7 separate regions of the Homo sapiens genome follow, and all the other regions are linked to region 3. The links are contacts of gene promoters, found by promoter capture Hi-C in blood cells and fetal thymus (Javierre and others, 2016). All regions are on one chromosome and are shown on one strand. Each heading gives the region's core, a stretch centred on a gene start or on the middle of the fragment in contact. The rest is flanking DNA. Distances are from core to core; before and after follow the strand shown.

Region 1 (2,858 bases), core at 212-2,711, 600 kb after region 3:
TCTGATATGGGGTTGATATCTAAAATATTTAAGGAACTCAACTCAGTAGCAAGAAAACAAATGACCTGATCAAAAAGTGGGCAAAGGACCTGGATGAACATTTCTCAAAAGAAGACATACAAATGGCCAACAGGTATAATAAAAAACGATCAACATCACTAATCATAAGGAAAATGCCTATCAAAACCACAATAAGATATTATCTCACCCCAGTTAAAATGGCTATTATTCATATGAAAAAGACAAATAATAACAAACGCAAGTGGGATGCAAAGAAAAGGGAACTCTTACACTGTTGATAAGAATGCAAATTAGTACAGCCATTATAAAAAACAGTGTGATGTTTCCTCAAAAAACTCCAAATAGAAATACCATATGATCAAGCAACCCCACTACTGGGTATGTGTCCAAAGGAAATGAAATCAGTATGTCAAAGAAATATTTGCACTCTCATGTTTATTGGAGCACTATTCACAATAGCCAAGATATAAAATCATCCTAACTGTCTATCAAAGGATGAATGGATAAAGAAAATGTGGTATATATACACAATTGAATAATATTTAGGCATAAAAATAATAAAATCTTGTCATTTGAGGCAGCATGAATGAGCATGATGGAACTCATGCTGAATGAAATAAAGCAGGCACAGAAAGACAAACATCACATTTTCACTTTACATGTGGGGGCTAAAAATTTTTTTAAGCCTTTCAGGTTTAAAGATTACATTTTCAACCTTAATTACAAAATCCTGTATACACAAGAAAGTTTTTCCCTATTAGTCAATATATAATGTTTTATACAATCTCACACAGCTTCAGCTTATTTTAAAGAGAAAGCCAGTTATTTCTTATAAGAAGCAAAGCTTTATATGAATAAGTCAGCTCTAAATATGTGAATTAATAAAGATAGATTGCTAAGGCATATATTGCTCACTTACTGCTTTTGGTTTCACCAAAACAGCATATTATGCATTTTCCAAAACCCACAGAATGTACAACACTTAGAGTTAACCCTAATGTAAACTATAGAACAAAGCCAACTATGAAACTGTTTTCCCATTTCATTTGTAACCTAGTTGAATAATGTCAGTACTCCAACTTCACTCAATATTTTGTTGTCTATTTCAGGTTATTTGCCTCTCCACAGAAACTTTGGAATCTGTTTGTTGATACCTGCAAAATAACTTGTCAGGATTTTAATTGGAATTTCATTGAATCTGTAGATCAATGTGGGAGGAAATGACATCTTAACAATATTGACTCTTCCTTGCATGGACATGAAATATCTCTTAATTTATCTCTTTTTTTTTTTTTTTTGATGGAGTCTCGCTCTGTCACCCAGGCTGGAGTGCAATGGTGCGATCTCGACTCACTGCAACCTCCACCTCCCGGGTTCAAGCTATTCTCGTGTCTCAGCCTCCCGAGTAGCTTGGATTACAGGTGCACACCACCATGCCCAGCTAATTTTTGTATTTTCAGTAGAGACGGGGTTTCGCCATGTTGGTCATGTTGGCCTTGAACTCCTGACATCATGTGATGCACCTGCCTCAGCCTCCCAAAGTGCTGGGATTACAGATGTGAGACATCACACCTGGCCTTCTCTCCATTTATTTAGTTCCTTGATTTTTTTTTCCATCAGAGTTATGTAGTTTTTTTTCATATAGATCTTGTACATATTTTGTTGGATGTGTACTTAACTATTTCATTTTGGGGATGCACTAATCTGAAAGGATTTTTGTCTTTAATTTCAAATTCCACTTTTTCATTTCTGGCATATGGAAAAGACATTAAATTTTGTACATTAACCTTGTATCCTGCAATCTTGCTATAATCACATATCAGTTCCAGGAATTGTTTTGTTGATTTCTTCAGATTTTTTACCTCGACAATCATATTATCCATGAACAAAGACTGTTTTATTTATTTCTTCTCGATCAATATATCTTTTATTTCCTTTTCATGTCTTATTGTGTTAGCTAGGATTTCCAGTAAAATGTAAGAAGTGGTGAGAAGGAACATCCTTGTCTTGTTCCTGATCTGAGTAGAAAAGCTTTTAGTTTCTTGCCATTAAGTCTTATGTTAGTTGTAGGGGTTTTGTAGATGTTCTTTATCAGGATGAGGGAGTTCCCCTCTAAAATTCTAGCTGAGTTTTTATTACAAATAGGTGTTGTATTTTGACAAATGCTTTTTCTGCATCTCTTGATATAACCATGTCATTTTTCTTCCTTAGTCTGTAGATGTGATGGATTGCAGTAATTGATTTTCAAATTTGAGCCAACCTTGCATACCTGGGATAAATCCCACTTAGTCATGGAATATAATTATTTTTATACATTGCTTGATTCAGTCTGCTAATATTTTGTTGAGGACTTTTGTGTCTATATTCATAAGAAATATTGATCTTTTCTCATAATGTTTTTGTCTGATTTTGACATTATGGTGAAGCTGGCCTCATAGAATGAGTTAGTAAATATTCCATATGCCTCTATATTTTAGAAAAGACTGTAGAGAATTGATATAATTTGTTCCTTAAGTATTTGGTAGAATTTACTAGTGAACTGATCAGGGTCTCATGGTTTCTGTTTTGGAAGGTTATTAATTATTAATTCCATTCCTTTAATAGATCTAGGCCTATCTGGATTGTCTATTTCTTCTTGTGTGAGTTTTATCAGATTTTATTTTTCAAGAAATTCATCTATTTCCCCTAGGTTATCAAATTTGTGGGCACAGAATTATTCATAGTATTCCTTTATTATCCTTCCAATGTCCATGGGCTCTGAAGTGAAATCTCCTCCTTCCAAAAGTAGTAATTTGTGCCCTTCTTTTTCCTAGCCTGGCTAGAAGCTTATCAGTTTT
Region 2 (3,297 bases), core at 107-2,606, 800 kb after region 3:
GTTAAAATCAAGACTTCCAGAGTGGGAAGAACAAATTGTATTTAATGAAAATTTTCCCTATTTGCTTCGAGGCTCTGATGAGAGTCCTAAAGTCATCCTGTTCTTTGAGGTATGAATTGAATGGACCAATTCAAATTAAACGATAGTTAATATTTAATAGCACAAATGTAAGCTATTATTTTTAGTAGTCCAGTAAGGCAAAAAAAAAAGTTGTGTGAGAATTTAATCTCTAGGATTTAGTTTTCCAATGCTGTGGAATCAAGTGAGACGCCCTTTTATAAACAGTGATAGCATATTTGCTGAGTGTTTACTATTTAACCATTTGGCCTACTTTGTATAATTTAATAATTACAACAGCTCTGTGACTGTTAACTGTAGTGAAGTGATGAATCCACTCGATATGAATGCATTTCTCCATTTTAAACCCATTTCACAAAGCATAAACTCATTTAACCATGTCAGGCACCCTAAGAATATGTGTACCACCTGGATAAATAAAGATAAATGTACACAGATCAGTTAATGCAGTTTAATATGTAACCAAAAATGATGTAGAACTTATATGTGAAGGGTTAGTGGCGGGTCAGTGGAGTCAGGGAAAGCTTTATGGAATACATGGCTTTTGAGCTGACTAGTTGTTATTATATAATTTTCTTACTGAAAATGATAACAAGGTTTGGAATAAAAGTGATTTCCCCAAAGTTACTCGAATTTTAAGTTAAAAAAAATGCGTTTGCAGATAGTTTGAACCTAGAATACCACATTTCTTTACTCTATCATGTGTTCTGTCTCCATAAGCAAAGGACAATAGAGAAAGCCCCCTTCCAGTGTAAGCTAGATGGAGAAGTTTAGCATGGGAACAGCAGGGGACTTGGCATAACCAGTGCCGAAGATTCATTTTGTAGAATTACTTGTTTTTATGATCCTTGACTTTCAGGTTGTCTATTTGTATTTATGATACAAATATTCCAATATTTACATTTGTGATTATGTTGTGTGTGATTTACATAAAGCTGTTATTGTTGAAAAATTGATATAATTTGTATCTTAAGGAATTTTTTGTCTTCAAACTTTGTCATTTGTTACAATTTTCTTCTGTATTCATTTTAGTATTAAGAGATGAAGAAGGATAGATTGTTGTATTATAAACGCTTTTGGTTGCTTCTTAAGTTTTAATGTAATATGTTATTGCCTATGCAACTGCTTTTTGATCTCAGTTTTTTAAGTGTTGAGGACAACTTGATAATGTCTCACAGTCTTTAAAACCATTATTTTACTCTTAGGTATTTATCTTAAGGAAAAAAATGACAAGTCCGTGAAGATGTGTGTGCAAGGATATTTATTTCAGCACTGTTTATAATAGCAAAAATTTTAGGGAGATAAAATAACCTACATTTAGATCAGTAAGAGATTTGGTTAAATAAGTTATAATTTTTGTTAAATTTATGGTATTTGTGACAGAATAGTAGGCAGTCATTAACATTACGGTATTCATGTGTATGTATTGACATGAAGAGATATTCACTACATACTATATGAAAATAATTTGTGAAATAGCATTATTAGATTTGTAGTTCCACACATATGTTTAGGAATGCACAGAAAAAGATTTGGCCTGCAAACTAGATGTTAATGGTGACCATCTATGGGTCTGGATTACAAGTTGTTTTTACTTTGGATCTATATATTTTTTATATTATGTTTTCACTGAGCATGTATTATATCTGTAAAAAAGATTTAGGTATCCAAAAAGCACAGATGATTGGAGTCTGTATCATTTCTTAAGCAGTCTTCTTTCTATAAAAATCTCATTTTCGCAGCTGAGCTTTTAATAAGCACCAGTAAGTTTGAAGTGATAGCCTTTGATAAATATCTAGAATACGATCTCTGTGGCAGGTTGGTTGCAAATCCATGAGCTTTAATGTCCAGACAGGATAGAGGAATGGAAGAAATCCTCTTGAGAAGCCTAATTATAACATACATCCAAAGAGAAAAACCCCAACTTCAGGAAGGTGATCCAAGACAAAGACCCAGAAATAGGGTTGTGAGTTTTTTAAACAAACAATCCTTTAAAGTCTGCTGTGATACATAAAAAACAATGAAAGCTTAAGAATTCTATGCCTATTATATTTGTACCTAGGTTATATTTGAGGTGATTAACACTTTGCTTTGGATTTGAAATAAATCATAGTATTTATTAATGAAAGATAAAATAGTCAGAAAATGGACCCTCCCTAACTGAATGAGTTAACTTTAAGGTGAATGAAATGAGATAAAAATGTTTTTATTCCCTGTAAAGGTTAATGTTTTTAAGCACTATACAAATGATTTTTTAAAGTTTTAATAATGTACCATTAGAAAATATTAAATTTTAGGTAGCTTAGTCTTCTGTGAATTTATTTGCAGATTCTTGATTTCTTAAGCGTGGATGAAATTAAGAATAATTCTGAGGTTCAAAACCAAGAATGTGGCTTTCGGAAAATTGCCTGGGCATTTCTTAAGGTATGTTTTTCATCCATTTTAAACACTTTAAAACTAGTCTTCAAATTTAGTTGGCTGCTTTCTCCCAAATCAGTTTGGTCTCATATAAGGAATTAGAATCTAAGGTAATGTTGTAGGGATGAAGAGTTACTAATTCAAGCTCAGGTTATGCTCATTCAGATTCTTAAATATTTATTGATGGCCCAGTATGTGCCAGTTACACTATTTGGTTCTGAGGATGTAGCATTAAAAAAGACACAAACAGCCATGCCATTATTTATTCAGTTCAAAAAATATTAAGACTTTTCTATGTGCCAGCTACTGTTGTCAGTGGACAAAGATGACAAATTCCTTGAACTCCTGGACTTCATATTCCAGCAACACAAACATAAAACAATTGATTTCACAATTTATCATTTAATTATAAATTTTTATAAATATCGTAAAGAGGTATAGGATGGATGATGAACTGTGGGGTCAGGGAAAACATTCCTGAGGAAGAGACACATTGCCACCGGTGGGGAAGAAATGGTCTATGGTAGAGGGTACAATATATGCAAAAACCCTGATATTTGAAGGAGCAGGGTTAATTCAGAAAATCAAAAGAAGGCCACCAAGATTGGAGGACAGAGACTAAGGGGAGAAGAATGGTGCATGAAGAGGTTGCTAAGGTCAACGGGATGTTAATTATGATGAGGTCTTCTCAGTCATTATAGCAAGAGGAAGCCATTATAGAATTTAAAGAGCAATGGGAAGCCACTGTGGGATTTTAAACAAAAGAATAAAATAATCTGATTTGTGTTTTAGAAAGATATA
Region 3 (3,026 bases), core at 56-2,555:
GAGAGTGGGAAAGGGAGGGGGTTATAAAGTCGTGATTTATTCACAAGGGCAAAGGGAAGGACAAGGAACTTGAGAAAATTACTCCATCTAGGGTTTCTGATCCATCATCATCCTTGTTCTGCGCTCACTCAGCCGTATCCAGCTCTACTGGGCATATCACTATTATTGCTATCAATTGTTTTGCTAGTTGCTTAGTCCCAAATCATTATCATCTTTTCTGTCATTCCACATTTAGGTATTTTATTCAACAAATAGACTGAATGCCTATTATATACCAGACACTCTTCTAAAGCACTGGGGAAAGATAGAGCATGGATCAAAACAACTTCCTGTTCTCCTGGAGTCTACAATTTTGTTTGGTGGTAGTGGAAGCGTAACTAAATATATATGATAAGTGCTATAGAGAAAAGCAAATTAGGGTTAGAATGGAACGAGATGCCCCGCTGGCCTGTAAGCTCCAGGAGGACGAGGACCTGCCCTCTCATTAAGGTATTTTCCGTGCTTAGAATGGTGTCTGCTACGTAGTAGATATCTATTATTGGTTGAATGAATAAGTGATGTTGACCATAGATAAATTAGTTCAAAACTTAGATTTTCAAATTATGTCAGTAGCAGGCACACATCTTAAATTGTTATATCACTCCAGTGCACGTCTTGCTGAAATTCAGAAGAGGAAGCTATTTCGTATGAAGCCAATAACCTCAAATCAGAAATGAAAACTGGGATATCACCTGTCATATCACTTGCCATCCTCGGCTAAGCCAGGAGAGTGTCCGGCCCAATATTCGGTAGCCTGGATACGTAGGTGTATTTAGTGAACGAAAGAATGAATCCTAGCCACTGCAAAGCTGCAAAACCCTCGGGGGTAGTGCTTGGCTTCTGCCAGTTCCACAAGTATTTTAATATTAGCTGAACAAATGAAATGACCAAAAAATAAATCGCGATTTTGTGTCAGATGAACTTGGGAAGGCGGATGCGCTTAGGGTCCGGCTGTAGCGAGTAAGACACTCCCTGCGAAGAGTTCTGTGGGGTACGAACTCCGGACTGCGAGTCCAGCTCACGAGTTTGTACCTAAAACCTTGCCCTGCGGGAGCGACGCTGTCCTAACGCGACCTGCCCTGCCCGTCAGCTCCTATTGGCTGACTCTCGGAAGACCCGCCTCTTGAGAAGGAAAAGCAGTCGCTTCCCGAATTGCCTGACATCATGCAATGACCAATCAGAAGCAGCGATCTTCAGTTTTGCCCAATGAGGCTGGTTACGGGTCCTGGCCCGCGGAGTTTGATTTCGTCCTGGGATGCGGAAGTAGCAGTCCTGTCATGCGGAAGTAGCAGTCCGGTCCTAGGGACTAGCAGGTGGGTTGGTTGGGCGCAGGAGGACGGGGGCGCGCTTCCCATAACATTACCCTGGCTGAGCGTGAGGCTCCAGGGCTGGGCACCGGGTTGACCTCTTATTCCTCGCTGAGGGCATCGTTACCGCCTGTGGCTGCAAGCCGAGGCGCGCGGGTGGAAACTGGGTCGAGGTCTGGGTAGACGTCTGAGCGATCTGCACAAGGAGTGGCGCAGTCTGGAATTTGATTGAGGATTCCTAACGCCCTCCGCTTGATGTTCTGGTGATTCCCGGGGGCTCGGCTTCGGAGGAAGGTGAGCAAGGCTACCACGCTGTGTTTGGAGAGCACCAGGAAGCTTGTGACCAAAGCGAGGGACGCGATCCGGCTCTGGTCACGGCCTGTTACTAGATGGGTGACCAAGTCACGTCCCGTATCTGGAATTCATGCTTCTCATTTTAAAAGAGTGAGGAGGGATGGGCATTCCACATGGCTGGGGAGGCCTCACAATCATTGCTGAAGGCAAATGAGTAGCAAAGTCACATTTTACATGGTGGCAGGCAAGAGGGCTTGTGCAGGGGAACTCCTGTTGATAAAACCATCACATCTCATGAGACTTATTCACTACCACGAGCATAGTATGGGGGAAGCTGCCCCCATGATTCAGTTATCTTCACCTGGCCCCACCCTTGACACGTGAGGATATGTGTGTGAGAAGAGCTACTGTTTATTTTTTTAAAAACTGAGTCGTCCCTTGCCTGCTTTCAAGGGTTGGCTAAACTCACCCATCTGCTAAGAGTCTCAGCCCAAAGCTTTCAGGAAAGAGCGAGCTTCGCTGTGGCATGTAACTTGAAGCCTTGCCTACTAAGTAGATGTCCAGTTTGTTGATTGGTCTCTATTAACTAGGCTCAAACATCCTACGAGGTTTTAATGTAATCTAACCAATTAATTGAAATTTCCTTTACAACCCTCTCTTTCCCCCAGACTTCCCCTTCCTTTCTTTTTCTCTGACTTAAAAGAATGCTGGCTAGGAGAAATTAGTTGACTGTGTCGTGTATCAAGAGGACTTTTCCAGGTTATGTAGTACAATTTGGCATTTATTTGTCAAGAGTAACATTTTCTAAAATTTTCCCCAAAGGCACCAAGAAACTGATAATGTTCCTTTGAATTGGCTTCTGTATTTGCTTCATCAATGTCTCTCATACTGAATATCTTAAGAGAGATGCTGGAATATTTTGGCGTTCCTGTAGAACAGGTAAATGTCGTTTTGGATTGGAATGGATCTGTTGTATTTGTTCTTGGGTTTCATTTTGAAAATGACTTATATGTAATCATTTGATTTAAGGCAAAGTTGTTGCTTCTTTTTAGTTGGAACAAAGGTGAGTTTGTAATAGTATAGCTTTGATGATTTGAGTTAGAAGAGGGATAAGATTATTGAGAACATATTTACCTGATAGGACAAATGCCAACAGAAGATACAAAGGAAGCAAAATATAGACATGAGCTTCACAGAATTACATTTATTGCACAGATACATTAAAACTTCTATTCAAGGTAATTTATAAACAAGTTCAATATTTAAAGCTCAATAAATCCAGAATAAATCTAATGGAAAGAGGATGATTTAGGCCTGAGAATTATAAGCTGTATTAGTCTGTTCTCATGCTGCTAATAAAGACATACCGGAGACTGGGTAATTTAT
Region 4 (3,030 bases), core at 260-2,759, 580 kb after region 3:
CCCCTGAGACCCCCCTAAGAAACACAGTTTGACAACCCCTGGACCAAAGAGATATATTTAAGATGTAGAATCAATGCTTCCACCCATTTTATTTAATAAACTCTTGTGGTGTCTAATAATCTGTAGTGTCAAGCTGTTCTTCGCTATCTAAAGTAAATCTCTGCCAAGAGTTCATAAGAAGGCTTGTCTTATTTCTTTGGATGTCAAACAAATATTGCACTCGATAAATCTCTCAGTGTGTCTCTAGCCTCTGCAAGCATACATCAAAACCCAGTTAATTATAGACTTGTGGAAGCTGACCTTCTGACCCTCCATTTCTTGAATCCATCTGGGTGCGATGACTCTGGATCCAGACTGCACGAGCAATTCAACTTTTTAAACTCTCACCTAATCTTATTATACATTCTCTCCTTTGGGAGACTCATTCACCTACATGTTTTCAACCTCTGCCTATAACTGGGTGATGATGTCCAAATATCAATAGCTAGGCCTGACTCTATTTTGCACTCCTGACTTGCAGTTCCTAGTGGACATGTTTTTGGGGTTTTTGTTGTTGCTGTTGTTGTGGTTTTGTTTTGGTTTGTTTTGTTTTCGAGACAGAGCCTCGCTCTGTCGCCCAGGCTGGAGTGCAGCGGCATGATCTCAGCTCACTGCAACCTCCGCCTCCTGGGTTCAAGTGATTCTCCTGCCTCAGCCTCCCAAGTAGCTGGGACTACATGCATATGCCACCACGCCTGGCTAATTTTTTAATTTTAATACAGACGGGGTTTTACTGTGTTAGCCAGGATAGTCTAGATCTCCTGACCTCATGATCCGCCTGCCTTGGCCTCCTAAAGTGCTGGGATTACAGGCATGAAGCCACCGCGACCGGCCGTGGACATGTTTAATTAGGCTTCGCAGATAGCAGTGCTGGTCAAGATGAGCCTTATCTCTACCCTACACCTACTCTCTGCCAGTTTTGCTCACTGAGTATGCTGCCACCAGTGAGTACCCAGCAATCACCCTATGCCACTCCTCTCTCACCCCCACCAAATTGCCTCAGTCTCTGTGGCCTGATGTTTCTGCCATCTTAAAACCACTCAAAGCTGATGGTCTCCTCTCCTGCCTCCTGTGGCTTCCATCTAGCTACCTGAAATTACCATGGCAGAGACTGCAGTGCTCAGCAAGCACCCATCTGCTTCCCCCCCACCCCGTCTTCCAGCCTCCTGTGGTTAGGCAAAGCTACGGAATTGGCTGTGACTACAAAAAGAAATGGCATGTGTTACTTCCATTGTGAAGCATAAAGGAGCCACTGCAAACCCTTGCAGTTGTCTCTCCCCTGATGTGGTGACTAAAAAGGTCGTGTGTTGGAGATAGTGCAGTCAAAAGATGGCAGAGTCTGGTCCATGAGTGACACTGTGGAACAGACCCACCCCACCTCCCGCTGTCTTCTGTAGGGCATCCAGAAAGAGTGAGAGATACCCTCCTGTTGTGCTAAGCCACTGAAATGTAAGCATTGTTTGTTACTGCATCATAACCTAGCTTATGCTGACTAACATACTTACTGAGTTGTCTCCTCTTCTTCAAGACAGCCTTGCTTCAGTACGCTACACCACCTCAGACACCACAGTCTCTGCCATGGTAATGGAAGCCGCAGGAGGCAGGAGAGGAGACCGTCAACTTTGAGTGGTTTTAAGATGGCTGAAACGACATTTTATCATGTCACAAATACTTCATCACATGTCTTGCACAAAACTCTTCAGTAGCCCCTCATGTTAGGCAAACCATAAACCTGGAAGTCTCTTGCAGGTCTATGAAGGGCTTGTGATGGTCTGCCACAACTTGCCTTACAGCCTCACCTCCCAGTGGCCCTCAGAGCATCCCCGGCACTCTCTCCCCAGGCCCAGCTGTCTGCACATCCTGTAGGGAGCCTGTTTACTCACTTCTAGGTCCCAAAGCAGGCTGTGGCCTGTCTGTAACATTCTCTCCATCTTCACTCTCCTCTGTGGGCAAACTCCTGTCCCTCACACAGGACTGCAAGTCTCATCTCAGGTACATTTTATTTTACTATTTTATTTTATTGTGGTAAAAACACTTAACATGAGACTTACTGCTTAACAAATTTTAAACAGACAATACAGTATTGTTGACTCTAGGTACAATGTTGTACAGCAAATCTCTAGAGCTCATTCATCTTGCTTGACTGGAGCCTTATGCCTGTTGATTCATAACTCTCTATTCCCCCCTCCTGCTATTCCCTGGCAAACACCATTTCATTCTTTGATTCTATGAATCTGACTATTTTGGATACTTCATATAAGTGGAATAATGCAGTATTGGTCTTTCTGTGACTGGCTTATTTCACTTAGCTTGATGTCCTCCAGGTTCATCATGTCATTGCATATTATAGAATGTCCTTCCTTTTTAAGGCTGATAATATTTCAATGTATATATCGCATATTCTGTATCTATTCATCTGTCAATGGACATTTAGGTTATTTCTGCATCTTGACTATTGCGAATAGTGCTGCTGATATCTCTTTAAGATCCTGGTTTCAACTCTTTTGATAAATATCCAGAAGTGGAATAGCTGAATCATATATATGGAAGTTCTATTTTTAATTTTTTGAGGAATCTTCATAGTATTTTCTGTAGCAGCTTCACTATTTTGCATTTCCACCAACAGTGTGCCAGCGTTCCTATTTCTCCACATCCTCATCAGTACATTTTGTCCTTTTTTTTTTTTTGATGATATCCATCTGGACAGGTGTGAAGTAAAATCTCATGGTGGTTTTTATTTGCATTTTCCAAATGATTTGTAACATTGAGCATTTTTTCTTATATTTGTTGGCCATTTGTATCTTCTTTGGAGAAATGTCTATTCAAAACCTTAGCTCATTTTTAAATCAGGTCATGTGGTTTTTTTGCTATTGAATTATAGAAGTTCCTTATATATTTTGGAGATTAGTCCTTTATCAGATAGATGGTTCATGGATATTTCTTTCATTTCATCAATTGCCTTTTCACTCCGTTGATTGTTTCCTTTGCTGC
Region 5 (3,274 bases), core at 572-3,071, 760 kb after region 3:
AAGGAAAATGAAGTTTAGAGATCTTGAGTAACTTGTCTAAAGCCACATAACACGTAACTAACAGTGGTAGATGCTACTGTTTATCAGAAATAAAAAGTTAACTTAGCAAAGGAGACTTTTAGAGTGAGTGGCCAAAAAGGTCAGAGGGATACAGGTGAATGTTGTGTCACTAAAGTCAAAATAAAAAATATTTTAAGAAGGAAAGATAGGTGAGTTTTTCTAATGTAGCTAGAGAACTCATGCCGATATTTACAAGAACTTATTTCTTAACATCCTAGTAGTGTAGGTTGTGTGTTATGATAGAGTCATTTACAAAATCACATGGCTGTATCTTTTGTAGCTGAGAGTGAAGCAAAAGTAAAAACCAAAGTTCGCTTTGAAGAATTGCTTAAGACCCACAGTGATCTAATGCGTGAAAAGAAAAAACTGAAGAAAAAACTTGTCAGGTCTGAAGAAAACATCTCAGTAAGTAAATGATCATTGGGTAATAGTGATTTACATATGCGCATAAAATGCAGATATGGCTGCATTTTATGTTAAAATTCTAAGGAATTTTGAAAATTAAAAACAGTAACACTATGTCATGGTCAATAACATGTGGTAAAAATAAAGTTTATATTAGAATCAACATCACTGTGAGAATATTGACTTCATTCTTGAGTGCTGTCCTACAGGAAGAACACACACACAGTGGGGAAAATGACCAGAGATAGTGGGGAAACTCAAAACTAGCCATGATAACATTTTTGAAGAAAATATTTTTAACCCAGAATTGTGAAGAACTTAGGAAGTAGTATCTTAACTTCAGATATTGAATAGCTTGTGCTTATTTAAACTATTTCTGTGTGATTCTACCCAACAGAACCAGGAGAAATCAATGGCCGTATGGTAATAATTATCCTTTTATGTTTGAGGCACACTTTCAAATGATAGAATCTTTGGCAGCACACTTGAAGGAATTAAAAATACAGTGCTCAAAGACTAAGCAAATCAGCAACTAACTACAACCTGATCCCCTTGGAATCATAAAGAGTCTGTATTGGCATCCACAGTTAATGCTCTATGCCCTCTTTATACCTATCTCCCTACTTGAGTTGCACTTTTTACTACTTTGACCATTATCTCTTCTGTCCTCACAGAAAAAAATAAACAGGCTCTTGTGTAAATGGTACATAGTTTTTTTTTTTTTTTTGGCAGGAGTTTTATAATGAGTTATAATCCTACATTTTGCTTGTAGTAAGATTTACCCCATTTTTTCTTAAGACCTGTTCATTTTAGTATTCTGTCTGGCAGATGTCAATGTAACAATATAAATTCTGAAGTGAGGCAAAAACAAGTAGTAAAATTGACCAAAATCCAGCTGCACATATGTGAGGGTTCATAGTGTATACACTGGTGTACGACTGCACAAAAATTTCGAACTACTGACAGAATGGACAGATTAGCACTCCCATAGTGATTGCTGCTCTGAAATAGCATGTGCTTTTTCTGGTGGTACTAGTGCACAATATGGTAGGGAATAGTGACATGGAGGATGAAACATTGCTTATTGATATATGCGCTCCCCTCAGATGGAGTGGTTTATGTTGGGCAAAAGCAAAAAGAACCCTGGAAACAGTTGTCTGCAGAGATGTTTTATGCTCAGAGAAGAACCTCATATTGTCTCTTAGTATTAAAGAACTGGGAGTTGTGAGCCATGAACAAAATGCAATTTAGACCAAGGTTTAAATTAAATGGATAATCAGAATAGGCAGAGGCTATGTCCATTTACCTAAGGTCCAGTTTAAATGTTGAGGGGCACATAAGTGTGAGGTGACTAAGCATAATTTATCCAGCCTCTCTTTGCAAACACCAGGACTGAATAGGCTTCTTTTCTTTCAGAAATAAGTACACTAGGAACAAATATTTGGGAAGATATTTCGCAGCTCAAAAGAACAGGAATATTTCTAAAGGACTTAGAGGAGAACAAAATATTTTTGACATGATTAACTTGAGGAAGTAAAAGAGGAATAGCTGCTTTCATTTGCTAGATGCCTTAATGCTTTCTATCTTTAGGCACTCTTCTAAACACTTTATATATATTTAGTCGTTTAATACAAACGACGAAATTACAGGGTTTTATTTCTGTACAGGAGAAAACTACATCAGAAGTTAAGTAACTTGCTGAAAGTTACATAGTAAATGGTAGAACCAGGATTCAAACACTGAGTGGAAGTGCAGAATCCACTGCCTTAACCACAACCCAATATTATCTATTTTAATGAAATTTGAAAAGATAGGACTTCTTCTTGAAAGAAGAACAGGGAGTCCTATGTACAGAACAGGCTGAGATGAGAAATGGAGCAGTCTGAAATAAAATTAAGCGAGGAAAAAAGTCAAAATAGGGATTCATAATAATGGCAGGTTCATCTTATATTCCAGTTATATATAAGGCACAATAATAAGAGTTTTACAAATATTATTTCTAAATCTCATGTTAATCATGCAAGATAGATATTGGGATTCTTTTTTTGCACATGAGAAATTTTATAAACAGACAAACAGACATGTTAGGTGATTTCCTTAGGTCATTTAGTCTAAAATAGGATAAGTGGGATTTAAGACCACAGTCTCTGCAATTTTAAAGTTCATGTTCTTCAGTTGCTTCCTTAAAACTATATCTCAGGCCTAAAATGATGGAATTGACACTACGGAAAAATCTAATCAGTGAAGTGGGAGACAAATTCGAGGTGGGAAGAAATGACCAAAACTAAAATGAAAGAAATAAATGATGAGGACATAGAAAGATATTTGACCCACAAATAAGTATCCCGGGACAGTACTAGTGGAGCAGAAACAATAATGAGCATGATGAAGAAACCTTGCTGAGATTTCTGAAGAGATGAGTCATCCTGCATTCCAGGCAAAATTTATGAGATGAGAACTATATCTAGAAAATTCTTTTGTTTGTATCTTAAGAGTCAAATATTGCAGACACCTAAACACAAAAACATATAGTACATTTGAGACTTCTCTGTAAAAACACTAAATCCAAAAGACAATGGAGAAATATTTAGAGCACTAAGAGAAAAATTGTAGCCTGAGGAATCTGGTCACCTAAGTTGTCAGTCATTTGTGATGGTAGTTGTAAACATATGTGCATTATTAGAGAAATATCAGTGTTCCCTCCCTGGAAAAAAAAAAAGATTTAAGATTTATTAAAGATGTAGTACCATTTCTAGATATGAATCAAAGTTAAGAATTTAAGAATAGAACATCTTAAGATCTTAGAGGA
Region 6 (3,073 bases), core at 184-2,683, 810 kb after region 3:
TGATAATTGTAGCAAAATTATAACTGAAAATTTTGCATGTGAATTTTTGTGTAAAGCAAAAGAAAAACTATTCTTAAGTAAATTTTGAAATTTTCTCTGTGCTGCAAATGTCTTTGGTTATAATTTTGTTATAGACTGCTTATGTCTAAATAATATTAAATTATATATTTGTATATTATTGGATTAAGGATCTTCTGTCTGGAAACCTAATTTCTAAATATTTTCATTAGTATATGAAATTCCTTCTGGACGTTTCATGAGAGAATTGTGTGGCCACCTCAATATCATTTATGATCTTTCCTGGTCAAAAGATGATCACTACATCCTTACTTCATCATCTGATGGCACTGCCAGGTTAGTATCCTTGAGAAGTACTTATGTGCATGCTGTTTGCTGTCAAGGAAAGCAAAGAGAATATAAACTGATGTAACTACTCTTATGCTCCAGTCGTATTTTCCCAAGAAGGGACTGTCATAAATATGCATCATGCAGACTGATTCCATAAATTATAGTAACACTTTTTAAAGACATTTTTCTTAAATGTCTTTTATTTATGTAGCATATAATATTTCTAGTCCTCACCATCTTTAAATGATCATTATGTAAACTGATTAATGCTTTGAGATGGGGTTAGGGGTTATTAAACACTTGAGATTTTTTCCTAGAGCATAAGCTCTTGGTGGCAGGGATACTGTCTTCACTATTGGCTGGATTTGCAGAGGGTAGAATCCAGTGGTGCTCAGTATATCACAGTAGAGGAAACAAATATGTACCTTATATTTTAACAGTTTTATAGATTGGTTAAACATTTACATTTTTCAGAATGTCAATCTTAAAAATAATTTATCCCTTTTCAATTTAATAAGTATCACAATAAAACATTTTAAAAGCTAACTTTAAAAGTTTCATTTATACTTTTTTTAGTTGCTTGTTCTACCTTGAATGTGTTCTAAAAATACTGTTAGTTTTCAGGGTGCTTTTAGATACATCACTTAATTTGATTCTTACAGCTATTAGGTAAGACATTATTCTCTCCACACACTACGAAACTGACATGTAAACAGTTGAGATCCATGCTGAATTCATTGTCATTTACTTCTGCCTTCTACTCTCTTAACACTTCGTGTTACTTTTAGTGTTCAGACCACTTCTTCTACTGATCTTGCCAACCTCCTTTTCTGTATAAAATATCTAATCAAGATGTTACCATTATTGGTTAGTTTTTATTTAAATGAAAAAGATGAGAATTAGTAACAATTGACTTCCTTCTTGGTCATGCTGGGAACCTACTATTACTCCTTTTTGACAATATCCTCAAGAAACTATCTGATCTGTTCTTTTAGCACAGCCATTCTGTCCAATGCCAGGCCATACTAGAGAAAAATATGTAACTTTGCTGAGGGGTGACTTTGGATTTGTAAGTCTTAATGTCACCTAAGCTGTCATCTCTGCTGAGGAATCCTTTTACTTTACTCAGCTTCCTTTTCTTTTTCCTCTGGCAGCAGATCCAAACTTACCATGAACATTCTCTACAGTAAATCACAGTCTTCCCACTTCATTAGATGACTATCTTCAATTTAGATGAAATTTAGTCAGACATGATCTTCGTATATTTCCCTCTGATTTCCCTCCTAATATCCATAGATATGTCCATTTTTAATCTCTGTCCATCTCTTTTAACAAAGAGGCACGTGACTGACGTTTTAAAGGCTATTTGACCTGTACTTTTCATCTCAGTCCCTGAAAATTTGTATTACATCTACTAGTCTGATTAATATCTTTCTCTCTATTGATTGTGTCCTCTCATCTTAGAAATATGCTCAAATGGGCCGGGCGCAGTGGCTTATGCCTGTAATCCCAGCACTTTGGGAAGCCGAGGTGGGCAGATCACTGGAGGTCAGGAGTTCGAGATCAGCCTGGCCAACATGGCGAAACCCTGTCTCTATTAAAAATACAAAAATAAGCCGGGTGTGGTGGTCTGCATCTGTAGTCCCAGCTACTTCAGAGGCTGAGGCAAGAGAATCACTTGAACTGGGAGGTGGAGGTTGCAGTGAGCCGAGATTGCGCCATTGCACTCCAGCCTGGGTGACAGATTGAGACTCTGCCTCAAAAAGAAAAAAGAAATATGCTCAAATTGCCTTATCTTAAAAACATCATTTTCAGTTCTTCCTGCCTTCTAGACTAGCCCATTATTTTTCTTTTTCTACACCATCAGGAGTATTCTACACATACTGTCTTTACTTCAGCCCAGTTATTCTGGCTTTCTTTCCCACCATGCTACATAAACTTCTTTCTTCAGAGGTTGGCAGTTTCTTGCTATTTTTAAATCCATTTGGACAGTTTAACTCCTGCTCTGCTTGCCTTCACTGTAGTAATTGATTATTGACCAGTCTTGAAATATTTTGAATTCATAGTTTTCATTGACAACCTCTTCTCTTCTCTTTTTATTACTCTGACCAGTTCTATCCATTGTCTTTCTCTGATTTATTTTCCTCTGCCGATCGTCTATATGTTTTATCCCCAGGATCCTTTAGCTGATCATCTCCTGGTTTTATATGCTTATCCTAGTTTCTCTTACCTTTCCCAGCTTTGACTCTTGCTGATATGCTAATGACTTCTAGCGCACACCTTTTTTATGAATTTGACTTCCTATTACACGTTTCCATTTGAATGGCCCATTGCCACCTCAAATCCAAAACCAAACTTACCCACCTCCTTAAATTTTGTTTTCCTCTTTTAATTCTCTTACATATATTTTAATGGCATCCTTATCCACCATCTCCCAAGCTGAAAACTCAGAGTGGTGTTCATCTCTTCTTTCTTTCCCATCATTTCTTTCACATCTAACTAGCACTAAAGTCTGCCAATTCTCCCTCCTAAAAGGCTCACAGTTTTGTCACGTCCTCTCTATTGCGTTTGCTTTAATTCAAGCCCTATTACTCTTTGCTTAAATTGTTGCTATTGACCTCAGTGTTCAGTCTCTAAGTCCTCTGTCTCTGCTGTGCTAAAATTATCTTTCCATAACTATCTTTCATAATGCCTTAATTTTTTAAAAGACTTTACCCATTGCCCA
Region 7 (3,071 bases), core at 417-2,916, 730 kb after region 3:
AATAGGAGGAATAAAAAAATTCAATCCAAGGCAAATCTTTTATCTGTTAATATTTTCAACCCCTTTTATTTAAAATGTTAATTCTAATTTGTGAAAAAATTTGTATTAAATGAAGTTGAAACATGTGGCATAGAAGGCATCAGGTGACGTCATCAAGCAGATGTGTGCTACATCTATGAAAAGCAGTCAGATCTATCCAGCAGCAGCTGACTGGACTCTATGGCATTTCTTCCAAGTGCCCTGTTTCCTGTGGTCTTGTCTGCCTTGCTGATTTTTATTATTTGAGCCCAGTGTCTTTTCTATTTGGCCCTTGGCAGTGCTTCTTCAATAGCATAGTAATTGCCCCTGAATCCACCACACTGACACTCTCCCCTTACATTATATTTAAGGGCACCACAAGACCTCCAGGATTGACTGCTACACATCTTGGGCCTGATATTGGTATAGCCCGTGCAGTACATGATACTAGGATCCATCAATGGCCATGGAAAATACACACAACAAGATTGGGCATGCAATCTAAGACTGGATTGGGGTGATGGTTATGTAATGTATAAACGTACTAAAAATCATTGAACTATACACTTAGAATTGGTGACTCTTGTAATATGTAAGTTTTACCTTAGTAAAGATTAAAATAAAAAGATTCATCAGGCAGTAGAAGTAGGTAGGACAAGTTTAGACTGACATTGATATACCCCTAAGTATAAATCAATACAGGGGGTTCTATCATCATGACAGGAGCTGACCACACAGAATCAATTTGTTGGGAAGAAAGCACGAAGCCTGTTACATCAGTTCCCAGTCTTGGGAAGAGTAGAAACTATTTAACCCAATAAAAGATAATGTTTTTGTTAGTGTTGGTGATTCATCATAGTTGACACTAAGATTCCAAGACCGGGTCCCAGCTGCTGAGAGAGCACTGCAACAAGGAATTTACATTTGTCAATTTGGGTTTTAAAATGTAAACCAACCCTATCTAATTTAAGGGCACAAAAAATAATTTATTGGAAAGGTATGGAGTCTTTCACAGAACTAAATAAAAAGCTAAACAATCAAGCATTAAGTAGAATACTACAGGAAACAGGACGACCCCAATAATCTGGTATTCAGGACTAATGAATAGTCTCTTTAAAGAGCTGCCAGCACACGCTAACCATCACTAACCATCTTAAACAGTTAATTACCATGTTCTGGGCTAGGTTCTATATTTAAGAAATCCCATTTCTTAAACAGTTAAGATGGTTAGTGATGGTTACTGTGATGGCAGCTCCCTAAAGATGGTTAACCATCACTAACATCTTAACTGTTGAAGACCATTTCAGATTTAGTTTGCAGAGAAATAATGGATTGTTCTTGCTTAGGCCAAGTGTCAATGCCTTGGGTAGGGCTCTTTCACTGACATCCCCTGTAAGACCACATGCAATGGAAGAGGGTGAGGGGATTATTTTTCATATTAAAATGAACGTATTTTTACCAAACTAGAGGAAAGGGATGCTGGGCAGAAAACACACACACACACACACACACACACACACACACACACACGTCCACTATGCTATTATCAATGCAGGCAATTTGAAGTTCTTTTTCTAGTTAGTGTGTCCATTAAAGGCAGGAACTTGGCAACTAAGCTAAGATTGGGAGAATTTCTGTAGTTTTACAGAAAAGAGGCTAGAAAGAACACAACAGGGGCTCAATTCTATAAGAGGTCTGAGATTACTAAAATAAATAAATAAATAAATTACAAGAGATTGGAGATAAAACAGAAGTTTAGCTTTATCAACAGGGTAAATAAGGCTTAAAGGAGGGAGATTCAGATGCGAGAAACACAAGTGGGAAAAAAGGAGTAGCTATAACTCATAGAACAAAGCCCAGAACATGATAATTATTCTGGGACAGCAAGGGCACCCTAGGAATATTGAACCAGTGGTCAGCCCAAGAGTACCTTCTTCTGTTCTCTCTTGTTATTCTCTGCCATCCCACCCAAGTCTCACAGTTGGTCTAGGTCAGTTTAATCAAATCTTAATTTTGTTAGAATTAGCTCAGTACTTAGATATCAGCATTTATTAGCAAACCCAGTTGTGGTTTCTCCCCAAAATATTTTGAATTTTTCCAAGAAATCCCATTTCTTAAAATTTTGAGAACTGCTGATTAAAATAAAAACCTAGTGGGAGGGAGGCTTTGTGTTTCTATGGCTTTGATGTTTTCTGAGTGGTATAGAAAGAATGAAAGTCAGTTAAGGTATACAGTAATTAGTTAGTGCCTACTCTGTGCAGAGTGCTGTGACAAATACTGAAAATACAAAGATGGACAGTGCTATGCTTTGAATGTTTTTGTTCCCTCCAAAACTCACATTAAAACCTAATCCCTAATGCAACAGTGTTGGGAGGTGGAGCCTAATGGAAGGTGTTTGGGTCATGGGGACTCTGCCTTCATGAATGAATTAATGCCACTATAAAAAAGACTTTGGAGAATGGGTTCACTCTCTTCTGCTCTTCTGGCATGGATACAGAGTTTAAGGTGCCATCTTGGAAATGAAGACCAGGTCCTTACCAGACACCAAACCTGCTGTCACCTTGACCTTGGACTTTCCAGCCTCCAGAACCATGAGAAATAAATTTCTGTTTGTTATAAATTATCCAGTCTCAGATATTCTGTTACAACAGCACAAAACAACTAAGACAGATACCCATCAGCAGTGTCCTTAAGGTGCTTATCATAAAAAAGGGATATAAAATACCAGCATTCATTGTATATATAAATGTATTGTGGCATGTGTGTTCAAAGGCCATTAGAGCATAGCATAAGTATTAATACCTAGTCTACCCTGGGGAATCGAGAATTGAATCTCCTTCAAAGGAGAAATGGTATTTACAAGGAGACTTGAAGGAGAAATAGGATTTTGGCAAGTGGACAAGGAAATATGCATGATTATGAGAGCATATGGCATAACTCTCCTTTAAATATGAGAGAAACTTACGTCTTGGAGGAGCTTCATAAAGTACAGTGTTTCTGGGGAGGAAATGGAAGAGGAATGATGAGGCTGGAAGGCTGACTGTAGATCACAT

What was found. The method cuts DNA at HindIII sites, captures the fragments that hold promoters and counts their contacts. A CHiCAGO score of 5 or more calls a contact.
Region 1: a fragment that was not itself captured here is called in contact with the fragment with the promoter of MTFR2 in region 3 in 1 of 17 cell types (naive B cells); the score reaches 5.6 in naive B cells.
Region 2: a contact is called between a fragment that was not itself captured here and the fragment with the promoter of MTFR2 in region 3, in 11 of 17 cell types (erythroblasts, fetal thymus, M0 macrophages and 8 more). The highest score is 8.8, in erythroblasts.
Region 4: a fragment that was not itself captured here is called in contact with the fragment with the promoter of MTFR2 in region 3 in 2 of 17 cell types (naive B cells and total B cells); the score reaches 5.2 in naive B cells.
Region 5: a fragment that was not itself captured here is called in contact with the fragment with the promoter of MTFR2 in region 3 in 4 of 17 cell types (fetal thymus, naive CD8 T cells, total CD4 T cells and 1 more); the score reaches 7.9 in fetal thymus.
Region 6: a contact is called between a fragment that was not itself captured here and the fragment with the promoter of MTFR2 in region 3, in 1 of 17 cell types (monocytes). The highest score is 5.1, in monocytes.
Region 7: a contact is called between a fragment that was not itself captured here and the fragment with the promoter of MTFR2 in region 3, in 2 of 17 cell types (endothelial precursors and fetal thymus). The highest score is 6.1, in endothelial precursors.

The regions. Positions count from the first base shown.
Region 1 is chr6:135,653,358-135,656,215 of GRCh38, reverse strand. All of the region lies in intron 3 of AHI1-DT (AHI1 divergent transcript), which reads right to left. Among named protein-coding and RNA genes, the nearest start is that of LINC02524, 20 kb to the right of the region's middle. The HindIII fragment of the contact is 1,187 bases long and covers 868-2,054 here.
Region 2 is chr6:135,452,546-135,455,842 of GRCh38, reverse strand. It overlaps AHI1 (Abelson helper integration site 1), which reads left to right. Exons shown (of 29, transcript NM_001134831.2): 10 at 1-109; 11 at 2,407-2,502. Among named protein-coding and RNA genes, the nearest start is that of AHI1, 44 kb to the left of the region's middle. The HindIII fragment of the contact is 1,503 bases long and covers 605-2,107 here.
Region 3 is chr6:136,248,590-136,251,615 of GRCh38, reverse strand. MTFR2 (mitochondrial fission regulator 2) reads left to right here and starts at 1,305. Exons shown (of 8, transcript NM_001099286.3): 1 at 1,305-1,640; 2 at 2,463-2,579. The coding sequence starts at 2,517. RefSeq lists enhancers at 836-985, 1,636-1,855. The HindIII fragment of the contact is 2,013 bases long and covers 1-1,684 here.
Region 4 is chr6:135,670,944-135,673,973 of GRCh38, reverse strand. It overlaps AHI1-DT (AHI1 divergent transcript), which reads right to left. Exons shown (of 6, transcript NR_152842.1): 4 at 1,545-1,680. Among named protein-coding and RNA genes, the nearest start is that of LINC02524, 38 kb to the right of the region's middle. The HindIII fragment of the contact is 4,785 bases long and covers 1-3,030 here.
Region 5 is chr6:135,487,814-135,491,087 of GRCh38, reverse strand. AHI1 (Abelson helper integration site 1) reads left to right here. Exons shown (of 29, transcript NM_001134831.2): 5 at 341-465. Among named protein-coding and RNA genes, the nearest start is that of AHI1, 8.3 kb to the left of the region's middle. The HindIII fragment of the contact is 4,311 bases long and covers 1-3,274 here.
Region 6 is chr6:135,435,656-135,438,728 of GRCh38, reverse strand. It overlaps AHI1 (Abelson helper integration site 1), which reads left to right. Exons shown (of 29, transcript NM_001134831.2): 15 at 231-354. Among named protein-coding and RNA genes, the nearest start is that of AHI1, 61 kb to the left of the region's middle. RefSeq lists a silencer at 2,102-2,302. The HindIII fragment of the contact is 5,381 bases long and covers 1-3,073 here.
Region 7 is chr6:135,518,743-135,521,813 of GRCh38, reverse strand. All of the region lies in intron 2 of AHI1-DT (AHI1 divergent transcript), which reads right to left. Among named protein-coding and RNA genes, the nearest start is that of AHI1-DT, 22 kb to the right of the region's middle. The HindIII fragment of the contact is 4,527 bases long and covers 1-3,071 here.